7 separate regions of the Homo sapiens genome follow, and regions 2, 3, 4, 5, 6 and 7 are each linked to region 1. Evidence: promoter capture Hi-C in 16 types of primary human blood cells and fetal thymus (Javierre and others, 2016). All regions are on one chromosome and are shown on one strand. Each heading gives the region's core, a stretch centred on a gene start or on the middle of the fragment in contact. The rest is flanking DNA. Distances are from core to core; before and after follow the strand shown.

The links. Contacts are between HindIII fragments. The CHiCAGO score rates a contact against its expected background, and 5 or more counts as called.
Region 2: a fragment that was not itself captured here is called in contact with the fragment with the promoter of PIGC in region 1 in 1 of 17 cell types (M1 macrophages); the score reaches 5.2 in M1 macrophages.
Region 3: a contact is called between a fragment that was not itself captured here and the fragment with the promoter of PIGC in region 1, in 9 of 17 cell types (M1 macrophages, total B cells, fetal thymus and 6 more). The highest score is 11.1, in M1 macrophages.
Region 4: a contact is called between a fragment that was not itself captured here and the fragment with the promoter of PIGC in region 1, in 15 of 17 cell types (naive B cells, total B cells, M1 macrophages and 12 more). The highest score is 24.8, in naive B cells.
Region 5: a fragment that was not itself captured here is called in contact with the fragment with the promoter of PIGC in region 1 in 6 of 17 cell types (total B cells, naive B cells, endothelial precursors and 3 more); the score reaches 7.3 in total B cells.
Region 6: a contact is called between a fragment that was not itself captured here and the fragment with the promoter of PIGC in region 1, in 3 of 17 cell types (naive B cells, total B cells and non-activated CD4 T cells). The highest score is 5.3, in naive B cells.
Region 7: a contact is called between a fragment that was not itself captured here and the fragment with the promoter of PIGC in region 1, in 11 of 17 cell types (naive CD4 T cells, non-activated CD4 T cells, naive CD8 T cells and 8 more). The highest score is 20.2, in naive CD4 T cells.

The regions. Positions count from the first base shown.
Region 1 is chr1:172,442,557-172,445,877 of GRCh38, reverse strand. PIGC (phosphatidylinositol glycan anchor biosynthesis class C) reads left to right here and starts at 1,809. Exons shown (of 2, transcript NM_153747.2): 1 at 1,809-1,890; 2 at 3,048-3,321. The coding sequence starts at 3,256. It overlaps C1orf105 (chromosome 1 open reading frame 105), which reads right to left. Exons shown (of 7, transcript NM_139240.4): 2 at 720-805. RefSeq lists enhancers at 1,421-1,730, 1,454-1,977. The HindIII fragment of the contact is 3,601 bases long and covers 1,215-3,321 here.
Region 2 is chr1:171,966,855-171,970,175 of GRCh38, reverse strand. The region is part of intron 2 of DNM3 (dynamin 3); the gene reads right to left. Among named protein-coding and RNA genes, the nearest start is that of DNM3-IT1, 100 kb to the right of the region's middle. RefSeq lists an enhancer at 2,955-3,321. The HindIII fragment of the contact is 1,367 bases long and covers 567-1,933 here.
Region 3 is chr1:171,984,526-171,987,846 of GRCh38, reverse strand. It overlaps DNM3 (dynamin 3), which reads right to left. Exons shown (of 21, transcript NM_015569.5): 3 at 42-191. Among named protein-coding and RNA genes, the nearest start is that of DNM3-IT1, 120 kb to the right of the region's middle. The HindIII fragment of the contact is 2,897 bases long and covers 1-2,698 here.
Region 4 is chr1:172,001,713-172,005,033 of GRCh38, reverse strand. The region is part of intron 4 of DNM3 (dynamin 3); the gene reads right to left. Among named protein-coding and RNA genes, the nearest start is that of MIR3120, 140 kb to the left of the region's middle. The HindIII fragment of the contact is 1,286 bases long and covers 1,087-2,372 here.
Region 5 is chr1:172,041,304-172,044,624 of GRCh38, reverse strand. It overlaps DNM3 (dynamin 3), which reads right to left. Exons shown (of 21, transcript NM_015569.5): 8 at 2,481-2,616; 9 at 173-240. Among named protein-coding and RNA genes, the nearest start is that of MIR3120, 96 kb to the left of the region's middle. The HindIII fragment of the contact is 189 bases long and covers 1,636-1,824 here.
Region 6 is chr1:172,067,830-172,071,150 of GRCh38, reverse strand. It overlaps DNM3 (dynamin 3), which reads right to left. Exons shown (of 21, transcript NM_015569.5): 11 at 2,246-2,332. Among named protein-coding and RNA genes, the nearest start is that of MIR3120, 69 kb to the left of the region's middle. The HindIII fragment of the contact is 4,034 bases long and covers 1-3,321 here.
Region 7 is chr1:172,090,263-172,093,583 of GRCh38, reverse strand. It overlaps DNM3 (dynamin 3), which reads right to left. Exons shown (of 21, transcript NM_015569.5): 13 at 709-760. Among named protein-coding and RNA genes, the nearest start is that of MIR3120, 47 kb to the left of the region's middle. The HindIII fragment of the contact is 3,923 bases long and covers 1-3,321 here.

The DNA.
Region 1 (3,321 bases), core at 560-3,059:
GTGCCTTTGGAATGGCCTCTATGCCTGCCCTTTCTCTTTCTCTCTGCCCTCTTTCTGGTTTCTCTCATTCACCCCAACACTACCTCACACCTACCCTTCTGTCCATGTCCCCTTCCCAGAGTGGGGTTTATCACTACACTTAGGAACCATTTCATCAAAAATGGAGAAGGGACACGGTAACCCAATTATTTCAAGAGACAGTTGAAATGCTCCCTAGATATGTAATTCCTGCAATTTTGAAAAATAGATTTATGTGTCATATAGTAGTTTGTTTGGAAGGAGTAGGACTAACAGGAATGTAGGAGGGTGCCTCAAAGTTACATACAGAGTTACTATTCTATAAAGATGGGAACTTACTGTTCTAGACTTTTGATGGTAAAAATGTGAAAATTTCAGACTACAGCAGTGGAGAAAATGTGGGGTGAGAAAGAGGATGGAAGTGTTTTGAGAGACAGTGTCTAGGGGAAAAATTATCTTATACTGTTGAGTGGTAGTGGTGGAGAGGGAAAAATTTTGAGATCTCATCTCCTCTAGCCAGGCCTATACTCAGTGATCATTTTTTTCTGAGAAACCCGGATTATTTCTATTTTTAAAGCACTTGACTTGAGTTTCTCAATGGATCAAATGTGCCCTCTGATAATTGTCCCCATCCCTTAAGAAGAAATCATCTTCTGTGAGATGTTTCGTAAAACTTTTGCCCTCGGTGGCTGAGAGGTTACCTTCTGGGAAGGCTGAGCACTAATGGCTTGTTTACAAGGCTGGCCTCACTAAGCCAAGGAATCTTGTCAAATTTTGGAACAGAAGCCTAGAGGGAAATAGAGAACATTTTACAGAATATATCACACTTAAACATTGCTATCATTACGATGGCCAAAGTCAGCTAATAGCAGCCATATAGTGAACACTTTACAAACCATTTTTATATTTAACTCTTTAACCATCCTATAAAGTAGCCAAGTGCAAATAATGTCATCTCCATTTTACTGATGAAGAAATCAAAGCTCAGGTAGTGTGATTTGCCTTGAGTCACTGAGCTAGTAAATGGGTCATGTTTTCTGACTTTTATTTCCACTGTATCCTGTGTTTTACTACATCCCTTTGTTTCTTTATTACTTCCTTCTGTTTATATATCCTTTAATATTTCCATGAACTCAGTTTAATTAGCAATCTTGTCCTCACTTCTTTTAGGAGGTAAAGAGGAAAAAAACCAAGCTTTGAAGCTATAGACAACTGGATATTGATCTCTGTTCATCTACTTCCCAGGTGCCTGTCTTTGGACAAATACAACTTATCTGAGCCTTAGATTTGTCCTCTTTGAGGGGGGAGATGATATAATCAGTGTAAAGGTCAATGCACCAAAAAAGAGAGTTTCATGAGAGCAGCAATTTTTGTGTGTTTCATTCACGGCTGTATCATGAGCACCCCAAGCATGGCTTGTTACATGCAGGCATTCAATCAGTATCTGTGGAATGAACGCATGGATGCACGGGAAGTCCCAGCTGAGGGCCTGACTTAATAAAGGAGCGCAACAAAAGCGGCCATTATCTCTCACCTACTGGCCCAGCCTCTTTCCTTGTCCTCTCTTGCCTTACCCAGTCCTTCAGATGGCACATCCCATCTTTCAATAGGGGATTGCTGGGGATTTGCCTTCCTAGGCTCAGAGCATTCGGGTTTGGGCCAGTCTCCAGGAGAGGAGACCGGAGGTCCTTCGAGCAGCCAGGAGGGGGCAGCAGTCACGTCGCGATGGTTCCAGCCGGGGAAGGGTGCCCTCGCTAAGGAGATTGCGGCGGACCCGGAAGTGCTTGGCCACAGTCGCAGCCCCGGCGCCCCGAAGCGGGAAAAAGGCTGGGTGCCGCCGTCCCCCAGCTGCGCAACCCTAGGAACTCTCGGGTAGGTGGGTTCCGTGTAACGGTCAGTGTTTCCGGGGCTCCTTTTCCTCTGCTGCCTCCCGCAGACCCAAGGCTGAGTGAGGGGCGGCGGCGGAAGTGGGAGGCCCACCCAAAAAGCCAAATGGGGTGCCAGAAGAGTGAAGGCGCACCCTGGGGTCACCCTACCCTACCCCGTCCCCTCCCAGCCCCACTCTGCGGGCGGGCGCTGCCCTTTTGGGCGTCGCAGACCCTCCAACCCCGGCGGCGGCCTTAAGATTCCCGGGCTGGGATCCCTGCTGCAGAGGGGGTAACGGTGTCTGGCTTGCCAAGCAATATTTGTTGTGGTCTATCATGGAAGAAATAAAGTCGGGCAATATGAATTTTTTTTTTCTCAAATTTGCCGGATGGCTGTGGTGTTTCTGACTCTTAGTTTTCTCATTGTGAAAAAGGAATGATTATCTTCTTCGATCCTCTCAAGAGTTTCCTTGTTTTGAGTAGATTGATAGCTCTTTAAAGGATGCTAAGCTCAGCTAATGGAAGAAGAGTCTAGTTTCTTTGAGGCTTTGATTTTGGTTAAACTATAGAGCTCATACCTTTCTGTATGGTGCAGCTTACTATTGTCTTTGGATTGGTAACTTAAAAAATACAAATAACATGCCTTTGAGAACCAATAAAAACTATGGATATTATCCCTATAAATTTACACAAATCCAGATATAAGCATGCAATGTGATATACCTAAGGGATATGTGAACCACTGAGTTAAGAACTGCTTTAGAGGGAGATACAATGTGAGACACAGGCTTTGGGATAAGACTTTGGTTTGAATCCTGGCTCTGCTCTGTTACCTTAGGGCAAAGTTACTTAAGCATCTTGAATCTCAGCTTTTTTACCAAAGCAGGACTAATACTAACTTACAAGGTGGTGAGGATTAAGTGAAAGAAGATACATAAGGCACTTAGCACATAGTAGGTACTCAATAAGCGATAGCTAACAGATGTCTATTATTATTCAAGGAATTATAATTTTCAAATCTGAAATGCAGTTTTAATGTCCCATAAGGTGACTACCACATACATTTTTCTCAGACTTTTAGTAAACTGAGTTGATTTGACTTTATCTCAGTACTACTCTTGACCTTTCACAACTTTCGTAGGTTCACAGTCTCTCTTTTTCTAGGAACTTGGCTGTGTTGTCCTGCCTCAGAGACAAATTCATCTATTGTAGGCCTAGCCCCTGCCTTTGAAAACAAGGAAAGGTTGGTAGAACATCAACACAGCATGGAATTTCCAGGGAGGTCTCATTTCAAAACTTCATAAAGAACAAGAACCACCTGGACTTCTGTGAGGGCGATGATTAAACTGGCCTGAGTTTGAATGAAAGGATAATGTATGCTCAACCTGTGACTAACACCAAGGAGGTCAAGTGGCAGAAGGTCTTGTATGAGCGACAG
Region 2 (3,321 bases), core at 1-2,500, 480 kb after region 1:
TTTTCGTGCTTCAAAGTATTCCATCGATAAAATGAAAATAGCAGTAGGATGCAGAAGGAAGGAACTATCTATGCCAAATAAGAATAAGTGCTTATCTTTATCTGTTTCCGCCAAAACTTGTGGTTTTGCCCAATGAAAGCCCCAAAGTCACATGGACTTCTATATTTACTAACTCTTGACCCTTAGAGTAAATTAAAAATGACTGAGAATCTGCTGTACTACACACCAAGCTTTTAGTCACACACATTATTTCATGTTAATACTCCAAACAACCCTGACTGTTCTGGGTAAACTGTAACTTCTCTGTGCCTCAGTTTCCTCTATGTAAAATGGGGATAGTGTCACCTACCTCCTAGGATTGTTGTGAGGATTAGATAAGACCATATATTTATTAGGGCCCAGAGAGCAATACCTCAAAATACGGTGTTTTGACATGCTGAACTAAAGAAGCAGCCCCAAGGTCTCTCTCTGGCCTTCACTTGCCTATCTGTTTCTTTAATCTTTTTTTGCTGAAGCACATTGGGAGAGACCCTTTCTAGAATTTCCTTTATATGACCAAGAAAGCTTCTTTATCAAAGAAATGCAATTATTTTAAGACCCCCCGTTTCTAGGAATCCCAATGAAGAGACTAGGAGTCATCACCATGTCCAGACAGACTTCTCATCTATTGTTAGGGCAGCTCCAGAGATTACCTGGGAGATGCTATCTGCATAATAAGACAACTTTTGTTCACAGTGAAGTTCAGCCCCTCGTGTTCCCACTGCCTCCCTCAGAGCTCACAGGAACTTCATCCTGACTATGATTTATCATTGTTCTTTGTGCTCATTCATTCCCCCTAAAAACCAATTACTCCTACACCTCTACTTCTCTTAACCCAGTGAAGAGGGTACTTTAGCATCAACCATGTGGCCCTTCTTTGAGTTTTCCTATTTTTTATGGTTCCCATGCTTATACACATTAATAAATCATTATGCTTTTCTCTTGTTAACCTGTCATTTTTTTATAGGAGTGTCAGCCATGACCTTTATGATGAGGAGCAAAGGGATCACCTCCTTTCTCTCCCCACATTTGGAAAACACTTAGACAAGTGCCCAGAAAGCATGTACATGCTAAAGCTCGTGTAAATGTCATTATTAAAATAATGATAACAGTTATTATAGCTTTTCTAAGAAATAAAGTGTTTTTCCATCAAAGCTAAATAAGCCAATTGAAGGCAGAATCTGAGACATCTCTACGAGTTTCAGCTGTAACCACTAAAGTTCACACTTGAAGAACACAACAATAGCATAATTTTGCATTTGGTACTTGAAATGCACCTTTATATAGCAATCACTCATTTGTTCCAACAGAAAATTAAAAACAATATTTAAATTTAGTCCCATTTTTTTTCCCTTAGTATAGCTTAGTAAGCAAATGGGACAGAAGACTGGACTTTCGCTCCAACTATAATAATTCCTTAAGACCGTTATAGGAGGCCATCGGTTTGGACTGAGCTCCTGCACTAAGCCCAACACATACCAAGCCAAAATGGGGTCACTCAAGCTGAAGTTCCACACCACCAAGCCAACACTAAGTTATTTCTCTAACCTTCCATGATATCAGGAGAGAGATAATAGCCAAATTTCCAAACAAGCCAGTGCTAGCTGGCATGATAATGAAGTCCCCTCTGCTTTAACCTTTGCAAGAAAAGTAACCTTGAAACAACCCAGCCTTTTTTGGTTTTCCGTTTCTGCCTTCTTGGTCCATTTCTGTCTATTAAACCAACCTCTGCTCAATTCATTGGGAACACTCATTCTATTTTGTAAAATGAGGAGTTGCCTGATTCTAGAATCACAAATAAAAGCCAGTTAAGATCTTTAAGCTAAATTTGTTGTAATTTTGTCTTTTGACAAGATGGAAGTTTTCAGTATCAGAAGAAAAAAAAAGGTAAGCTTTTGAGTTTCTGTCATCACAGAATCATACTGATTAGAAGCCTCAATAGCAGAGAAAGTACTTTGAACTCACAACAGAGCATTTTCCGTGTGTTTAGCACATGTATACATTCAAAGCATCTTCATTTGCTCTATCTCATTCAATCTTCAAAACCATTTTATGGAAAGTGATCATCAAAGAGATTAAGTTGTAGTGGCAGAGGGAAGGCTTCCTCTGTGCCCACTGAAGGTTTGCTAAAAATAAGCTGACAAAAGGCAGTTTAGTAGGAGAAAAAGGCATACAAAATTTAATTTGCATAAACACAGAAGCAATATACAAAGTATGAGACTCAAAGAGGGTCCAGATGATTGAGGCTTCAAATCTCTCTTCACAGAGGAGAGACATAAGGACCTGTAAGGTATATATTATTTTGTAAATGATTGTCTTTGAAAGCTGGATGGAACAAGTTATGGGAAGGTAAGGGGTGGACAGAACTGCACAGAACAAAGGTTGTCTTATTATGCAAATAAATTTCCCCAGTTAATTTCTTGGAATTGCACTCAGAAGAACAGATGAAAAGTCTGTCTGGGCATAGTGACTTGGTGACGATTCCCAATCCCTTCTGTTTCTCTGAAGGTTGATTTTTCCTGGATATTTGATGAGATTTCTAGGGAGCGTGCTCTTAAAACAACTGCACTTCTTTGTGAAATACACTTTCTTAGATAAGGAAATTCCAGACAGAATCTCTCCCCCTCTTCTTCTTGGGAAAATAAGGAGGATGAGAGAGACAGAGGAAAGTCAGAACCTTGGTTCTGAGGCCTATTTCTAAGGCCTTTTCATTTTCAAAGCACTCAGCATGTCAACAAGCTAGATTTTGGGGAATTGTTTTCTACACCCCAACAAAGTAATTTCTTTATAAAGTCACAAACTAAAAAATGGTAGAAATACAAGAAGTCAGGTCATTTCACCACTGGTCCAGAGCTCACTTCACCATACCAAGTCACATCTTCATGAAAAGTGTTTTAGTTCCAGTGGAAATCTGTAAGTATGAGACTGCCACCATATGTAGAATTGACATAAAAAATGACTCAGAACTGATTTTTTACCTCTTAGGCCTGTGATCTGAGAGACCAAAATAGATTCCCTTTTGTCAACTAAGACAAACCCTAAGGTTAAGGAAACAAAAGTTACCTACAGGTCTAGGGTTCAGGGCTCAGCTGGCATGACAACTTCCTAAATTCCTAAGGCTACAAGAAAAACCACACCCTTGCTACACTCCATAACAATAGGAGCTATTCGACCACTCTTAACTCTGATTTACAACCCAGAAAACTACGACTCAATGACTGAACAGAAGGCTGGCTTTATAAACATTTTTCTCTGATAAGCAACTACAAACCTTAAGCCAAT
Region 3 (3,321 bases), core at 1-2,500, 460 kb after region 1:
TGTTTGAGGAGAAGAATTTGGAATTTTATTATTTTACTTACCGTGTGGGGAATAGACTCGTAAATTAATGGGTATGGAGGAAATGCCTTTATTCATTCCAGTCACGCGATCTGTTTCTGCTTCAATCTCAAGGCGAACTTCATCAAAATCTGTAAATTTCTTTCCTTTGCAATGTAGAAACTCGGCATATTCTACAAAAATAAAACCAAAATGACACAACTTAAATTCATGCATTTTTGCCATAATTATAAAAGTTTCTTTAATTATAAGTCAAAGTATCCAATATTCTCTCTTCTTCCTTCATGAACATCCCACAGAACACAGTAGTTACTAAGAATCACAATTAATACTTTAGAAATATTAAACATAGTACAAATGCTATAGATGCTAAATTTGCCAATTTTCAGATAAGCAATTAAATACTAAAACCAGTCCCTAAACCATCTAGCCTATTAAATAATTTAAAGAAAATTTTGGCTATCCAAATGATAAAGCAAACAACAGCACCTGATTGTTAAAGACATTAGATCTGGGATACCTCTGAGTTCTGTTAGCATTCCCCTCTTCAGTATCACCATTTCATCAGGATGGAATGCCAAGTTATATAAATATATCTTCAGAAGGCAAAATAAGTTAAGGGAAATCATTTAATTTGTTAAAAATAAATAATATATGGAATCCTTTAGCTTAAAAACACACTATTGAAAATACCACATCAACTTATACAAAGACAATTTCTCAAGGAAAAAAGTTATAGAGTATTATATCAAAGCAAATATTTACCTGTAATGTAAAATTTTAAAAAAATCCCTCAGCAGAGGGAAAAACACTAAAATAACTACATAAATAACAAAACTGGGTTTTTAAATTTTCAGTAACATCCTACAAGCTGGTGTATTATCAATTTCTGTACCTACTTTGAGAGAAATCAGGTATGTAAAAAACACCACAATTTAAAAGAAAAGCTAGTACAGTACTATTAGATTTTTTAAATGAGTATAAATCTAACAAAGAAACAAATCTCCACAAAGATTTTAGTTTATCTAATATCTCAATGAAGAATTGTACAACTAAACTTAGACTATGCCTAAGCATCTTGGACCCAAATGCCAGATAAGAGCCTGTGAGGTCGAGGCTGCAGTGAGCTGTGATCATGCCACTGCACTCCAGCCTGGGCAAGAAAGTGAGACCCCATCTCAAAAAAAAAAAAAAAGCCAGATGTGGCAATTATTGGTAGCTTTACTACCATTACCCATCATAAACATTTAATATTCACTCTTGAAGATGAAATGGCAAGGTCAATAGCAAGAGAGCTATTGTGGCTGATCTCCCACGGGCACTTTAGTTACTGCAGGTAGATCAACAAGGGTTAGATTTAACACTGTGTGGAAAGGATAAAAGAGTCTTACATACACCTTCAATGCTAAAAGATAACAATACAGAATCATTTGTCACTTAGCTCAGATGTGGTCCGTGTCTTCAAGCAGGTTAGCATTAACTCAAAAAGCTAAGGATTAGACCACTGAGAAAAAACATTAATGCAGGTAGCATAATGTAAATGCTAACCTGCTCTTAAAATGATAAGAAAGGTAGAGATAGAAAAGATGATTTTAAGCTGTGGTACCCAAAAAAGGAAGTGGGGTATGGACTGAATACTGAACAGTAGGGAGGATTTTTACATGTGCAGGGAGAAAGAGGTCTTCCAGAGAATCAGAGAACCTTCATAGGTTCAACAAATCTGGCAGGTTGTCATCCAGTCTCTGCTCGGACCCATCCACTATTGGGTAACAGAAACTTTGATCTCATTGGAAAAAGCTCTGATTGGAAAATATTTATGTTTGGTATGAAACCTGCTTTCTTGTCATATTCCACTAGTCCAACTTTTGTCCTCTGGTGCTACTCAGCTGTGAAAAGGCCGTGTGCATTAATGTGAGTGTCAGCACCCTAAGTTTGTCTCCTTCCTGGGCCTCACACCCTTATCTTGCTTTGTCACATCACCACTCAGGCCCTCTGGTGGCAAAGATTTCCCAGTACCAACCCCAGCCACTCTGGCTGGAAAGGTCACAAGCTCCCAAAGTGGACCAAAAAGTTTCTACTTTAATTTACCAAAGAATTGAAATGACCTAGCTTTTTGGATGTTAGAATGAGAATCAGAGACGGATTTAATTTCTGTCTTTCCTGACAACATGCATGGACATGAGTATTTCTCTTTCTATCTTAGTTTCTCCATATAATGTGCCACTTTCTGAAAAACAGCAAGCTAAGTCTCCCGAAAGCTCATTCCTCTAATGCTGGAAGTATATCCAACAGTAAAGCCTCAACAGGCTGCAGAAATCTGGCCTGAAGAGATCAGTTCATCAAGATAAGGCATGTTCTTCTATACTTACCCTCATAGGCACTGTCTTTATTAGAATATAAATTCCCAGAAGATAGAGCCTTTATTTTATTACCCATTCAAAGCCTAGGCCAGTACCATGTGAATGTAAGAGTATATAGATAAGTAGAGGACAAAACAATACGAAAAACAAAAGAACAAAAGAAGTCAAATCCCAGAAAACAAGCAAAAATTAAAAGGAAAAATTAGAAATAATTTAGAAGAAATGGAACTGTGTTTTTTTCAATGCCATATATTCCATGGAAAATGCACCCTTCAAGACTTATGGCTATCACAACTGTTCTGTCATAGAGTTCATAAGCTTCTGGATCAGGAACTACATTTTCAATCACTGCTAATCGATACATTCCAGTTAACACAAATGTGGATCTCCTTTGTTGCCACTAGATGGCACCTACTTGCTTTCTCTGCAGGAAACATGCCCTTCCGGAAGGGTGTAAAATCAATGCAATTTTCAAATTAGATTTAAATGAGTTCTCAAACTCTTGAAAATACTTTTATCTTGGAATCAAGAGATGATAATTGTTCAGGACCATCTCAAACCTTTGTGTATTTTTATTTATTTTGTCAACCCCTTGGTCAATTTGCAGTGTCTTGTTGAGAATAGTGTCCCCCAGACAGATTCAAGGATTCCTGTATTCATTTATTTATTTGATTAATATTTATTGAGATCACTCTACTTGCCAAGAACTGTTTTAGAAATTGGGATATAATTAAGGGGGGAAAATAAGTCTCTAGGCTCACGAAGCTTAAATTCTAATCAGGTAAAAGAGTAAACAATATGTGTGTGTGTGATGCTAAGTGCTATGGAGAAAATAAAATAGCAGGGGGATAGCAAATGCTCTGGGAAAGGGGTTGCTTGGTTATGTGGTATAGATAAGGAAGGCTTCCATGACAGGGTAAAGTGACCTTTGAGCAATGACTCA
Region 4 (3,321 bases), core at 480-2,979, 440 kb after region 1:
AATTTTTATATGTTTATGGTTTTATTAATGCAAATTCTTATTAAAGCAAAATTTCTTCAGAATGTTTCTCTGTTACTTTAGCAGAACAGCTTGTACTTTCATTCCAACATGCTGCCTGCTTCCTCCTCTTGCTGCCTATTTGCCAATCCTTTTCACTGTGCCATCTGGAACCATCTTTATTGTCACCAAATTACTCCAACACACTCACACTCTTGTCTAAACAATAGCTCTCACTTCCTTGCCTTTATTTAAACTGAGTTCTCTTTTTTATGCCTTTCAGGTAGAGACTGTATATTCTCCCATGCTCCACAGAGCCCAGGGTTAGAGGAAAAGAGTAGAGATTAAAGAATTTTTCTTACTCCTTGGTGCTTCTCCAAACCCAAATCTTCCACCTTCACATTAAAACATTGCTTTGGAACCTGACATCGTCTGGGTAAAGCAGCTTCTATTCCCCCTTGTTGCTGTCTTCTACCAAATGTCTACAACACCCATTTTCAACACAAACACACACACACATTTTTTGAAGGTTTTAGCATCATCATGTTAGTCCTCACTCCCCTTAGTTCCGCCATTATCCAAGCAGCAGCAATGTGCATGAGGACGATGTATCCAGTCCGCTGGCTATTGAGTTCCTTGCCTGCTTCTATTCAATAATTTTTCAACTGCAGGCCATTTTAGCAATTTCCTCCCATGACCACATCCTGGACATTTATAACCTGGACTTGTTCCAGCTGTAAATCATAAACTCTAATATACATCTCTTTAACCACAAACTCCTATTCTCCCATTTTTCTTTCTTCTCTTTATAGGAACACATTGCTATTCTTCAATCTTGTCCAGAAGCCCATCCCTGAAACCATTTCATCTTCCTCAAAACATACAGATTCTTTTTTATTTCACTTTCTTCCAAGTATTTCACAGTCTGTCTTTCCAATTATTATTTTGCCAATATCCTCAACTCTTTTGCCCACTTTTATCTTCCATTCAACCCTCCCTGCAAAATCCTGATCTAAAAGCAACCCAAGTATTTGCCTCTTCAACCTCCCAGCTGCTGAGTGGTTTTGGGAATTACACAACCACTAAGCTTGGTGCAGATGCACTATGGCCTCAATAGAGTCCCCCAGTGCTGCCCACTTTCTCCTTCCATATTTCTCCACAGCAGCTGGTCAAAATACATTTCTCCCCAAATGTCTTACACAACCCCCTTCTCTCTTATCATCCTTACCTCACCCCCACCCCAGTTCTTCCTCAGCTGATAGCCTTGCTCCCCACTTACAGTGAAAAAATCTATGTCAATAGGCAATAAATTATTCAAATACCTCTCCAGATATCTACATATAGGCCTCATGTACACTTCCTTACTTCACTCTTATCTCAATGGAAAAAAATAGTTTTTCTTGTATTCAAGGTACCTGGCAGCCACTCAAGAAATGTTGGAGAGCAAGAAGGGGAGGGGGAAGAAATAGAGGAAAAAGAGGAAGGGGAGGGGGCAGGAGAGGAGGGAGGGGAAGATCCTAAAACTCAGCAATGAAAAATGGAGTTCTTACAGAACTTTAGAAGAATTTCGCTTTTTTTCATTGTCATATTTTATTTACACTGCCAACAAAATAACTGTATGAATCTAGTTTAATTATATATTCTGGGGATGGCTTGTAGAATATGTTTTTATAACAACTTTTAAAAGAGCTATTACATTAATGGAAATGTTAGAAACTCATGGTCACATCAGAATCCAGGAGTAAGATGTAATTGCATAGGAAACTATTAATTGTGTTTTAATGTCTTTGAAATAAGAAAGACATAAGAGCACAATTATTCTGTAACACTAAAGTCATCATTATTAAACACTTTTACCTTGAATAGCAATGCAACATCCATATATTAATATAAAGAGAATTTCTGAAAAAAATGAAGATTCATGTTACTAATTGGCAATTAAATTCAGAAAAAGAGAGAATATATTTATTATCTTCTTACTTTTTTAAGTCTTTTTCATGAACAGTGTTTCTTTTCTACATTAAATTTCTACATTCAAACTCCACAAAGAGCATCAGGGAAATTTTTAACTTCTTCAAGCAGCGTCTTTACAGTGACCCCCAGTGGCAAAAAAGGAATGAACGCATTAGAAATCCACGTTGAGGCCTTTTACATTGATGATAATAACAAGCTCTATTTTAACAGCACATTCACTTTATCATTGTGCCTTCACATTTTTCTTTTGTTCTTACTTTTTAAAAATCCAAATTTTACACTCACACATTCACATTCAAGTCCTAAAAATATTCTTCCTTTTTTTCACAGTAAATTTTATAATCATATCATTTTCCCAATTAAATCAGCATATCAAAGAATATATACTTTCATAAAAAGCTTTTTTAAGCCTATAAAGCTAATGTGTTTGTTGTCATATTTTCAAATCTAAATAAGACTCAATTTACTTTTTTAAAGCTTAAAATGAAAGTGTTCCTCTATACTTGGGCAAGCCCATTTCTCAACATGCAGATAAATGATCTACTCTTTGCAAACAAGCTGAATTATAACATGACTTAGCGTTTGTCTTGTTCAAGCCCAATGCATAGTAAATTCTCAATTTAAAAGAACAATGAATTGGATAGAACTTGTAAAACAAATTTTTCAAAGACTCCAAACCCTTCAGGTTTAGTCTTTGTTTCTATTTTATAATTGAGTTTATGGGTCTCAACCATATTATAAAAAGCTCAAAAACATATTCCTGAAGAAGTCAAAACATGGCTTCTATAAGCTACATATGAAGTCATTTTTTAATCTGATTTTTTCATACATATTAACTGATTCAATAAATATCAAGTAGCATTTGGGCGCTCAATGCAATTAATTAGCATCTATTACATTTGTTAAATTGGTCAAATAAGCAAAGAATTTTAAGGTAAAATGGAAATCTAATTGGGGTGAAGAACAGGTGCAGAGACAGATATAGTACCTGGAAAATAGGTTTCCTCCATGAATTGTTTTTATTTTTGCAGTTTATAAACATATTCTTTATATTCTGAGTGTTGACAATGCCTGGATGTTTGAAGCTTCTGCTCAACTAAGCAGCACCTCCACCATCTCTATGACCAGACAGCAGATTGGATATCTGCTAAATGTTGCCAAAGGTCAATGAATATCAGTTTACATCACCCATGGATTTTTAACATTTTCCAGATTTAAGAGGGAGATATCAAAAAGCAAACGCTGAAGGAGGTATGTAGGGACACACCCCCATAAGATGAATTTAAAAGTCTGCCACCAGCTGAGTAGTTAATTCTGGCCCAATTCACGAATTTCATCTCAAGAGAAGAT
Region 5 (3,321 bases), core at 481-2,980, 400 kb after region 1:
CAGCAATACAGGAAGTTACCATTAAACCCCAAAGTAGGATTTCCTGTTTCTTACTCCCACCTCTGTATTCTACCCTATTCAATGATGAAAAGACGAGTTTCCTAGCCATTTATAAACATTAATTTTCTTTTGGTAGCTTGAACAGATGACAAGAAAAATGTGAATCACTTGCCTGATACCATGTATGTTTTTGATTGCATAGCTTATTTCTCTTCGCAATTCTTTCTCATTGAACTCCATCTGCAGATGCAAAATGAGCCATAGTTATGACACTTAATTCCTTTGAATAATATTGTTGAACATTACAGAATGAGAATAACTTGACTTCATTATTAATAAGTGGATACTCATGTCTTTCCTAACCTAAACCCAGATGGTCAAAACATCTGTTTATATAAATTTCAAGGCAACACAGAACACTAGGGATTTTGGGGAGCTTGGGGGCAGTGGATTTTAACTCTGTTATAGATATGGAGTGCTATGCATAAGGATGCCTTCTGGACATAAATCTAGCCATTCATTTGAAATGTATAATTCTTCATTCTTTTGCTGAATATGGTAAATTTGAGGGCACAGAAGAATGCATAAATGAGAGTTTCACCTGCTGTGCAGTAGCAGTACAGATGTCCTGAAATTAACAATGGCTGTCTTTTGTCCCTGGCCACTTAAATCATTTGAGTTAAAGGCCTCTTTGTAAAAGAAAATTAGTAATATTTTAAAAAGACAACACAGGATAGATTACAAATATTTCTCAGAAGCGCTAGGTACCATAAATCTATTTGGAAGTAGGACCAAAGTGTCACAGAGCTTAGACCTCGAAGGGATAGCCCAAGAACATTGAGTTCAACCCTGACCTCTGAGATTTGGCCTCTCCGGCTTCATTGTCTGTCCATTTCCTCCCCTCACAGCTTATGCCCTAGAATGACGAATTGTTCTAGGTCTCTACCCATAACTGATGGCTTCATAGCTCATTCCTCTCCTGTCTGGATCACCCCCTCCTGTAGCCTACCTCTTCCTGCTTAACTAGCTGCTCATCCTTCCAAACTCAGCTCAGAAGCCTGGCTCCCTTACACACTTGAGCTGGGATTCATGTCTGTGGGCTGTGTTTCCATAGTACCCTTTGCTGAAGTTTATCACTTTACTTAGCACATTTTTAATGAAATTATCTATTTACCCATTTGCCTCCCACACGAAGACATAAGCACTCACCTCTCTGTTTGAGACAAGTAGCATGGTCCCTAAAACTACTCAACTGCCTATTGGGCATTTTACGCTTAGCACATCCAAAACAGAACTCCTAATTCACTTCTCCATACAAACAGAGGTTTTCCTCCATTTCCCTCATCTGATGGGCACTACCACTCCCTCAGCTGTGAAAGCCAAAACCTTGGAAGTCATCTCAAAACTTCCCTTTCTTCCATTCCCCCATTTCAATCGAAGCCCTAGCAACTTTATCTCCAAAACCCCAAAGCCACCCATCTCTCTATCCTTTCTTGCTGGGGCACTTTTACTGGAAAGCTAAAGAAGTTTAATTCTCAGCATTTCCCCCTTGCACAAGCCTCTTCCAAGACCCTGGGCCTGTGTGTTTATAATTTTGTATTCTTCTTCAAGGGGGCCTGTAAAATTGTAGAAGCTTCAGACTCCACAGAAAATGAATCCACCCCTGGTCTGGCCTACTGTTCTCCTCACTCTCTTGGCTCTTTACAATCCAGCAGGCATACTATTCTTCTAAAATCATCAACAAATCAAGTCACATTACTGCTTAAAACCCTCCTGTAACTTCCCATTGTTAAGTATAAAGACTTTACCTCAACCTAGAAAGCTTTGTGTGAACTGGACACTTCCTCCCTCTCTGAATTCACTTCATGCCCCTCTCCTTCATCAGCCACATCTGTTCTTCACCTGTCATACTTTAGTGCCTTACCCGAGGTTGCTACTTCTGCCTTGAACAACCCCTTTCCCCCAGATCTTTACCCAGTTGACCTCTTCATGCCATTCTGGGCACAGTTTAAATGTCTCCTGCTCAGACAGAATTTGCCTGATTATTCCATTAAAAGTGGCTCACCCATCCCCTCTCTCATATCATGTTACATAAAAACATTTGAAACTTTCGTATTTTGTCTATTTGTTAATTTTCTGTCTTTCCCCACTAGACAAGCAAGGGTCTTCTCTGTCTTAATCACTGGCACCTAGAAATGTGGTGCATAGTACATGCTTAAGAAATATTTTTAAATTAATTAGACAACAAACTAGGAAACTCAATTAGTATTTGTGTTTGAAATGTAGTTAAATCTCATTAAATAAAATCAGAATCATCAGTAAGAACATATTCCTCTCCTGAATTTCATTACCTGAATATGGAGGTTTTGTTCAAAGAACTATGTTAGTTCTATACCACTCACACAATATTGTATTAAGTTGTATAAAACAGAATATGGAAGTGAAGTGAAACTAAGAAAAAAATAACGTTTGACACAAACCTTTACTATCTCAAAAGGAAAGCGTTCATGAAAAATACGATTGATTTTAGCACCACCTGAGAGTTCCAGGGTATCTACTTGATCCCCTGACCCTTCAATTCTCTTCTCAAAGTCCACAGCAAATTGCTGAACCATCCTGTAATTGTTAAAGAGAAATAGATTCAAGTCAAAGTTACAAGCCTTTGCACTCTTCATTTTCTTTTCCTATGATTATTCCTTAGAATCCTTTTCCAGGTGCTCTTAGTGGCACCTACTGGCAGAGTTAACATTGCACTCTATGTAGTACTCACAGTGTGATTATACAAAATACACATCATTAAGATTTTAGACATTTAATTAGAATAAATATTTAAATATAGTTGTCTTTCAATGCCTTCTGTTCATTTGATTGCAGTCATAAAATGGTATTTAAAGAACACTTGAAATAGAGAGTTAATCAATTAAACTTTATGTAGAATAATCAAATGGACCTGAACTCCTATGACATCACAACCACCTAGTGTCCCAAATGCTCCAGCTCTATTACTCCCCCAATGTCACAGCCTCAGTCTCTCCTCACATTCATCCCTAGGTGATCTCAAGGTTGCCATAGCTTCAAGGGCTATTGAGAAATAGTTTCTCCACACCTTCCGCTTTAGCCTATAACTCTCAGAAGAGTGAGTGGCCCATATGCTCAACTGTACTGGATGTTTATTTCCTCTTAGCTGCCTTGAACTCAACACACTTAAAACAACCTCTCAATTTCTTTCACTCCCAAACCTGCTGATCCTCCTGCATTCCCAAGTCTCTCCTCATGGTGGATGATACCACCCACCCCAGGCAGGGAATCTGGGGCATCCAG
Region 6 (3,321 bases), core at 299-2,798, 370 kb after region 1:
AAAAACAACTAAAATTAATTAAGAACTAAGATATATATATATATATATATATATATATATATATGCAGGGTCTTGCTCTGTCACCCAGGCTGGAGTGCAGTGGCATGACCATAGCTCACTGCAGCCTCAACCTCCCAGGCTCATGTGATCCTTCCACCTCAGCCTCCGAGTAGCTGGGACTACTGGTAGTGCAGGCCACCGTGCCCAGCTAATTGTTTAATATTTTGTAGAGAGAGGGTTTCACCATGTTTCCCAGCCTGGTCTCGAACTCCTGACCTCAAGCAATCTGCCTGCCTCAGCCTCCCAAAAGTGCTGGGATTACAGGTGTGAGCCACTACACCTGGCCTTGTATTTTGATTACTTCTTTCCATCCTCACAAAATGTCTGTGAGTTAACTACCACTATTGTCTCACTTTAAGATGCGAAAATTGAAGTGTAAAGATGTCAAATAACTTGTCACAAGTTACACAAAATGTTAACAACAGAGCTGAAATTCAAATTCAGGTAGTCTGAGCCCAGAGCCCACAATCTTAACAACATGGTGAAGTTTGAACATGCCATTTTACTAAAACAAAAACTCTGAAATATGAAGAAGCTAGCAACTGACATAGATATGATTACAAATATTTAAAATGCTTTAAATAATTATCCTATATTTTCTCCAATATTATTTTGACAGCGGATCCTAAAGAGTTAAGTAGGATTTATTATCATTTGAATATTATAGATGAAAACACTAAATTAAAACAGTTAGCTTATTTACTTAAGGTCAGGAGTACAGCTGATTCTTAAGAACTTAAGTTTTCTCAGCCCAGGAGGGGCCAAGACATTAGACATTAGGGAGAACCTCTGGCCCTAGGGCTCCATATCTGGCTCTAGGCTTGATTTCACTGACTCAGGAGTTAATACTGATTTGTTCATCTCAACTGAATCACAAAGCCTGTTTTCTCCTCTTTTGGCTATTGCAGCTATCCAAGACTGTGAAAGTTGGTAAACAAGTGAAAACTATAAATGGTGATTAATTAACTTTCAAAACACAATGATAAAAAGTAGTGACAATGAATCCACAGCTCAAGCAGAGACAAGGTGGTTACTGGAATCACTCACGAATGTCCCAATCTGCTGGGTCTCCATCCCTCTGTCCTTCCTTTTCTCCTTTCTCCTCCACCTGCTCCTCTTCCCCACGCACACTCTGTGTGCTGTGTGTGTCTCTCCCTGTGGTTTTTTCCTCTCTCTTTTATTTTGTCTTCTTCCTTTTCCCCATTTCTCCCTCACCTCCTTCCCACTCATCTGAGAATCACAAAATCCTGTAATACTAACTTACACAGGCTTTCAGAGAGCATATAGACCAATATATTAATGCTGTACATGAGAAAACAACAGTCCAAAGAAGTGATTTACACAAGAACATGATGTTATTTTGTGGCGAGCACATGGCCTAAGTCCAGTGTTCTCTCCACAACATCACACGTGCAGCTGTGTCATGGAATTCAAGGGTATGTAAAACCATTTGTATTTCCTGTTATAATATTTTATAAGTAACTAAGAAAAATCCATTTAAACCTAAGAAGATTTTTATTCTTTCCACGTAGTCCTTTACTTTTTTAAATGAATTATCCTCACTTGAAAATAATCTTTCCAAATTACAAAGCTAGGATTAGAAAACAATTTCAGGGTCACTCCTTACAAACCACATACATTCACAAAATAGAAATGTTTAAAAGAGTAGTTCTCAATTTTTTTTTCAATCATAGGTTGTATGGATAAGCTGATGAAAATCTAGGTCCACTCTCTCCTCAGAAAAAAATGAAAACACTGAGCATTTTGCATAATGTTTTAGGAGTTTGTGAATCTTCTGGAGTCCATCTGTGGGCCCAATAAAAGTTAAGAACCTCTGTCTTAAAGAGAAAATGTGGTATGTTTCTGGATTAGTGGTTTTCAAAGTAGGATGTATGCATGATCCATGGAGCATTGAGAAAAAAAATAATGAAACTCCTGTTACTGCTTTTGCATCTCATTCTTCTGAATGAAGTCTTTTTATTTGCTCATATTTTTAACATAAACAAGATATGAATATAGTATGTGTATAATTCATAAATAAGTAAAAATAAACATAATGTAGTTGTGTTCCACTATTTTTTTTTCCTTTAAGCGACAGGCTGACTGTTGGGAACTACCAGACAACCTTGCAGAGACCTTCGACCTCCCACAATCTCCCTGCCCACCAGGGAAGACCTCTCTTTACCTGGTCCTTTGTCTTCCCTTCTCGCTCACGAATGTGGTTAGCAACAATCCTTTCCGTTTCCTCGCAGAGTCTGGGGAAGTTTGCCAGCTGTCAAGAAAAGCAGATCTGAGTATTAATACTCAAAAAGTTACACTACCAAAAAAGAAGCAGAGATAAATTATGTTATTTTACAGAAGATATTCATTGCCATTCTGGAAGCAAAAATGAAATATCATCAACTCCTAAAGAAGGATGTCAAGGTGATGGGAGAGGCTTCACAAACTATCATCAGAAGTAACCTTGTTATGTTGAGGAAACACTTCAAAACCAGCAGAGCAATTCCTTAGGAAGAAAGCAGAACCCTAGATACCATCTAGCACTGTGCTCCTGCTGAGTTGGCACTTAATAAAATTCAAAGATGAAGAAGTCGGAAAACAGGACAAAGAAAAGGATAATGACTAACATTTTATATAGTGTCTACCACGTGTCAGGCGCTAAGAACTTCATGAATTACCTCTTTCACTATTCACAGCAATCAGAAAAGACAGATATAATTATTAACCTCATTTCTTTTTTATTTTATTTATTTATTTATTTTGAGACAGAGTTTTGCTCTTGTCACCCAGGCTGGAGTGCAATGGCGCAATCTCAGCTCACTGCAACCTCTGCCTCCTGGGTTCAAGCGATTCTCCTGTCTCAGCCTCCCGAGTAGCTGGGATTACAGGCACGTGCCACCAAGCTCAGCTAATTTTTGTATTTTTAGTAAAGACAGGGTTTCACCATGTTGGCCAGGCTGGTCTCTAACTTCTGACCTCAGGTGATCCACCTGCCTTGGTCTCCCAAAGTGCTGGGATTACAGGCGTGAGCCACCACGCCCGGCCAACCCCATTTAATAGAGGAGAAAAGTGAAGCACAGAGAGGTTAAGTAACTCATGCCCATGACTAAACAGCTCAAAAATGGTTGGTTCAGGATTCCAACCTAAGTCCTAGGACTCCAGAGCCCATGGTCTTGTCCATTACTCTTCGAGCATGATTCATCCCATGAAGCACAAAGAGACTCCTTTAACTTTTTAAATTCTCCCCCACAGAAAATATAT
Region 7 (3,321 bases), core at 552-3,051, 350 kb after region 1:
TTCAATTTGTTCAATAATTGTACCTCTGAAAGTTTTTTAAAAACTATAACACCATCATTGTTTTGACTTGAAAAGAAATAACAATGCAAATATTCATTATCACATAAAACATAAAAGACACAGCAAACTGTTGAGTTAATACAATCTCTGCAGAGCGCTATTAGTCAGAGACAGCTGGTCAGCCCAAAACACAAAAACTCAAAAGATCAGATCTTCTTAGGAATTAACATCTTCATTAACCAACAAGAATTTAGTGTGGCAGAGATTACATCCAACAACTGCGTTCTTCATGAGCTGTCCCTTCACTGATACCAAGCTGTGCAAATGTGTGAACTAGTTAGCAACCCCAGAAAGCTCATGCAACTACTCACCACATTTTAACCTTCAACTGACTCACAAACTCAATGTTAAATTAAACTTAGGGGTAACGTAAGCAAGCAAAATAGGACATGAGGAGTCAAATTTGAAATGCAGAGCAAGTAGCAGAAAGGTTATTTAAAATAAATCAATATGGTTAACTGCACAAAATAGCCAAAAAGAAATGCAATTCACTCCAAAAATTTTAAAAGCAAAAACAAATCAAAATGAAAGCTGCATTTCAAGCAAAATTTGCACGTGATTAATTTGCATTAAAAAAATAGTCAATCAAGCGATTTAGTTCAAATTCTTTGGGACATGCATACACTGATTCTCTTATGCAATTCCTACCTGATTTCCAACTGTGGTTTTCTTGTGAACCTGACTGCTCCTCTGCTGAGCACTGAGAAAAGCAAAGGAAAGCAGCACTGAAGAGACACATATAATTTTTTCCTAAACAAGTAACAAATACTAAAATTTATACAGGCTTTAAAAAAAAAATCAATGGAGACAGACCTAATACCAAAATTCCAGGTCAGTTTAATTCTGGAAGCAAAACCAACTCAATGGGACTCCTAATAGCACATAACTCCTAGTAGCATATAAACCAAAAATATAATAACACCACTTAAAGAAAAGCTGCATTGTAACATTAATAACATACGAGTTGACATATTTGCAGTGTCTCACAGGTACAGAGGAGAGTTGTAATGGAAATTAAGTTAATGATTATTGAGTATATGCCATGTTCTAAGTGCTTTATCGATATTAATCATTTTTATTCTCACAGCAACCCCATGAAGCAGTTACGATTATTCTTCTTGTTTCATAGATGAGGAGAGAAGCTAAGTGACTTTCCCAAAATCACTCAGCTAATAAGTGGTAGTACCAAGTAGCATGGCTCCGCATCACAAACTCTTTGTGATATTGTCCAGTCTCACTGCTTTGAATTCCAATATATTCTGACAACTCCTTTAATGCATCTCTGGTTTGGATCTGCCATGTAGATCCAAATATGTATGAGTCCCAACTCTGGACTTATTGATGTTTTTAACAACTTAACCTCATCACTTGGGTATTTAATGGGCATATCATTCTTAATATTTCAAAACTAAACTCCTGAAATCCCCCCTAAAATCTGTTCCACCCACAGTCTTCCTTCCTCCTCTTAACTAATGGCAATTCTATACCATACATTCAAGTTCCTTGGCCAAAATCTTTGTCTCCTCTTTCTCTCACAACCCATATCCGACCATCAGAAAATGCTGTCGACTACTTTCTTATAATAAATTTAACATTTAACCATCTTTTCATCACTTCCATTGGTCCCACCTTGGTCCAAGACACTGCCATCCCTCATCTGGATTACTGTAATCATTTATTCTCTGGTCTCTGCTTCCACACTTGTCTCCCTGAAGTCTATTCTTAACAGACACCAGAGTGATACTTTCAGAAGGACTATGTTAACTCTTCTGCTCGAAACCGTGTACTGCATCAACACCATTCCATTTAATGGTAAAAACCAAAGTCCATACAAGGGTCTACAAGGCCCTACTCAAGCAACCCCCACTACTGCCTCTTTGACTCATCTCCTCCTACCCTTCACCTTGTTCCCTGAAGAGTTCCAGCCACACTGGCATCTGCTCTTTTTCAAACCCACCCAATACACTCCCATTTAGAGCCTTCAGGCAAGCTAGCTCCCTAGGATGTACTTCCCGCTTTCATCTGCATGGTTCCCAACATCTCTTTCAAGTCTTCATTCAAATCCTTCTTTTCAGTTAGGACTACTCTGACCACCCTATTTATAACCGCATCCCTCCCTTCCTCCAAGACTATCATCCCCTTTACCCTGTTTGATTTTTCTGTCTGGCATTTCTCACCTTCCGATACACTACACGGTGTATTTATTTTTTGTGTTTGTCTGCCCTTTTCCATTAGACTGTAAGCTCCTAATGAGCAGGGGTTTGCGTCTGTTTTGTTCACTGCTATATCCCCAGGGCCTGCAAAGGACATGGCACATGGTTGGTTTCATGAAATATCTGTTCGATGAAAAGCCCAATGAAGTTGATGCCATTATAACCCTCATTTTAGACATAAGCACAGAGGGTTAAAAGCCAGAAAGGACTCCAACAACTTAACAACAGAGCCCACACGTTTCATCACTAGGTTACTCTATCCCTCAAAAGGACAAAGGCTTTCTTTTGGTGGATCCATGAATAAACACGTATCAATATAAGAAACACAACTCATTTTGGTTATTCTGGGAAGATCAGCAATACTCAGTATTCTTACAGATTGTTTAATAGTTTATGGAAGCTGTTTTGGAGATCAATGAAATGGTCTAAAATAGAGAAAAGGGAGACTAAAGCTCTCAGTCAACTGTTTAAAGTGATGGGATGTTGTGCTGCAGTAACAAGTTAGAAATCAACACCACACTTAGAACAGCTGATCAAAATAAGTTTTTAATAAACTCCTCTGATACATTTAAGCTGCTTTCCTTCACTCAAACTCATGAAAAAACACTGCATTCAACTGAAGGTGGGCAGGGGGTGGGTGGTGAAAGGCCATACTGTATTTGGTTGCTAAAAATATTTTGTGTATATATTTTTTTCCAATTTAAAATTTGCTAATTTCAACTTCTTCCTTCCTTGTTTTTTATTTTTCCAGCTTTCTGTTAAATGGTTAATCCTCTTAATTACGATGAAATTATTTCCTCTTTAACCATTTCTCTGAACAATCTAAATCTACATTATTCAGGTCTTGTAGGTGAGGCTGTGAAAGAGGTAACCAGGATCCAATGTGCCCACACCGCCCTCTGGCTGCCCTCATGCCCTGGCGCACACAGCGTCTTGAGTAGCACTCTCCTAAGGGCTTCGGATCTCCTCCTTACTTTCTTTTTCCACATTAAATGTCACTTTTCCAGCACCCTCCAGGCTTCCTGCTCTTCCAGGAATGCATGAGAAA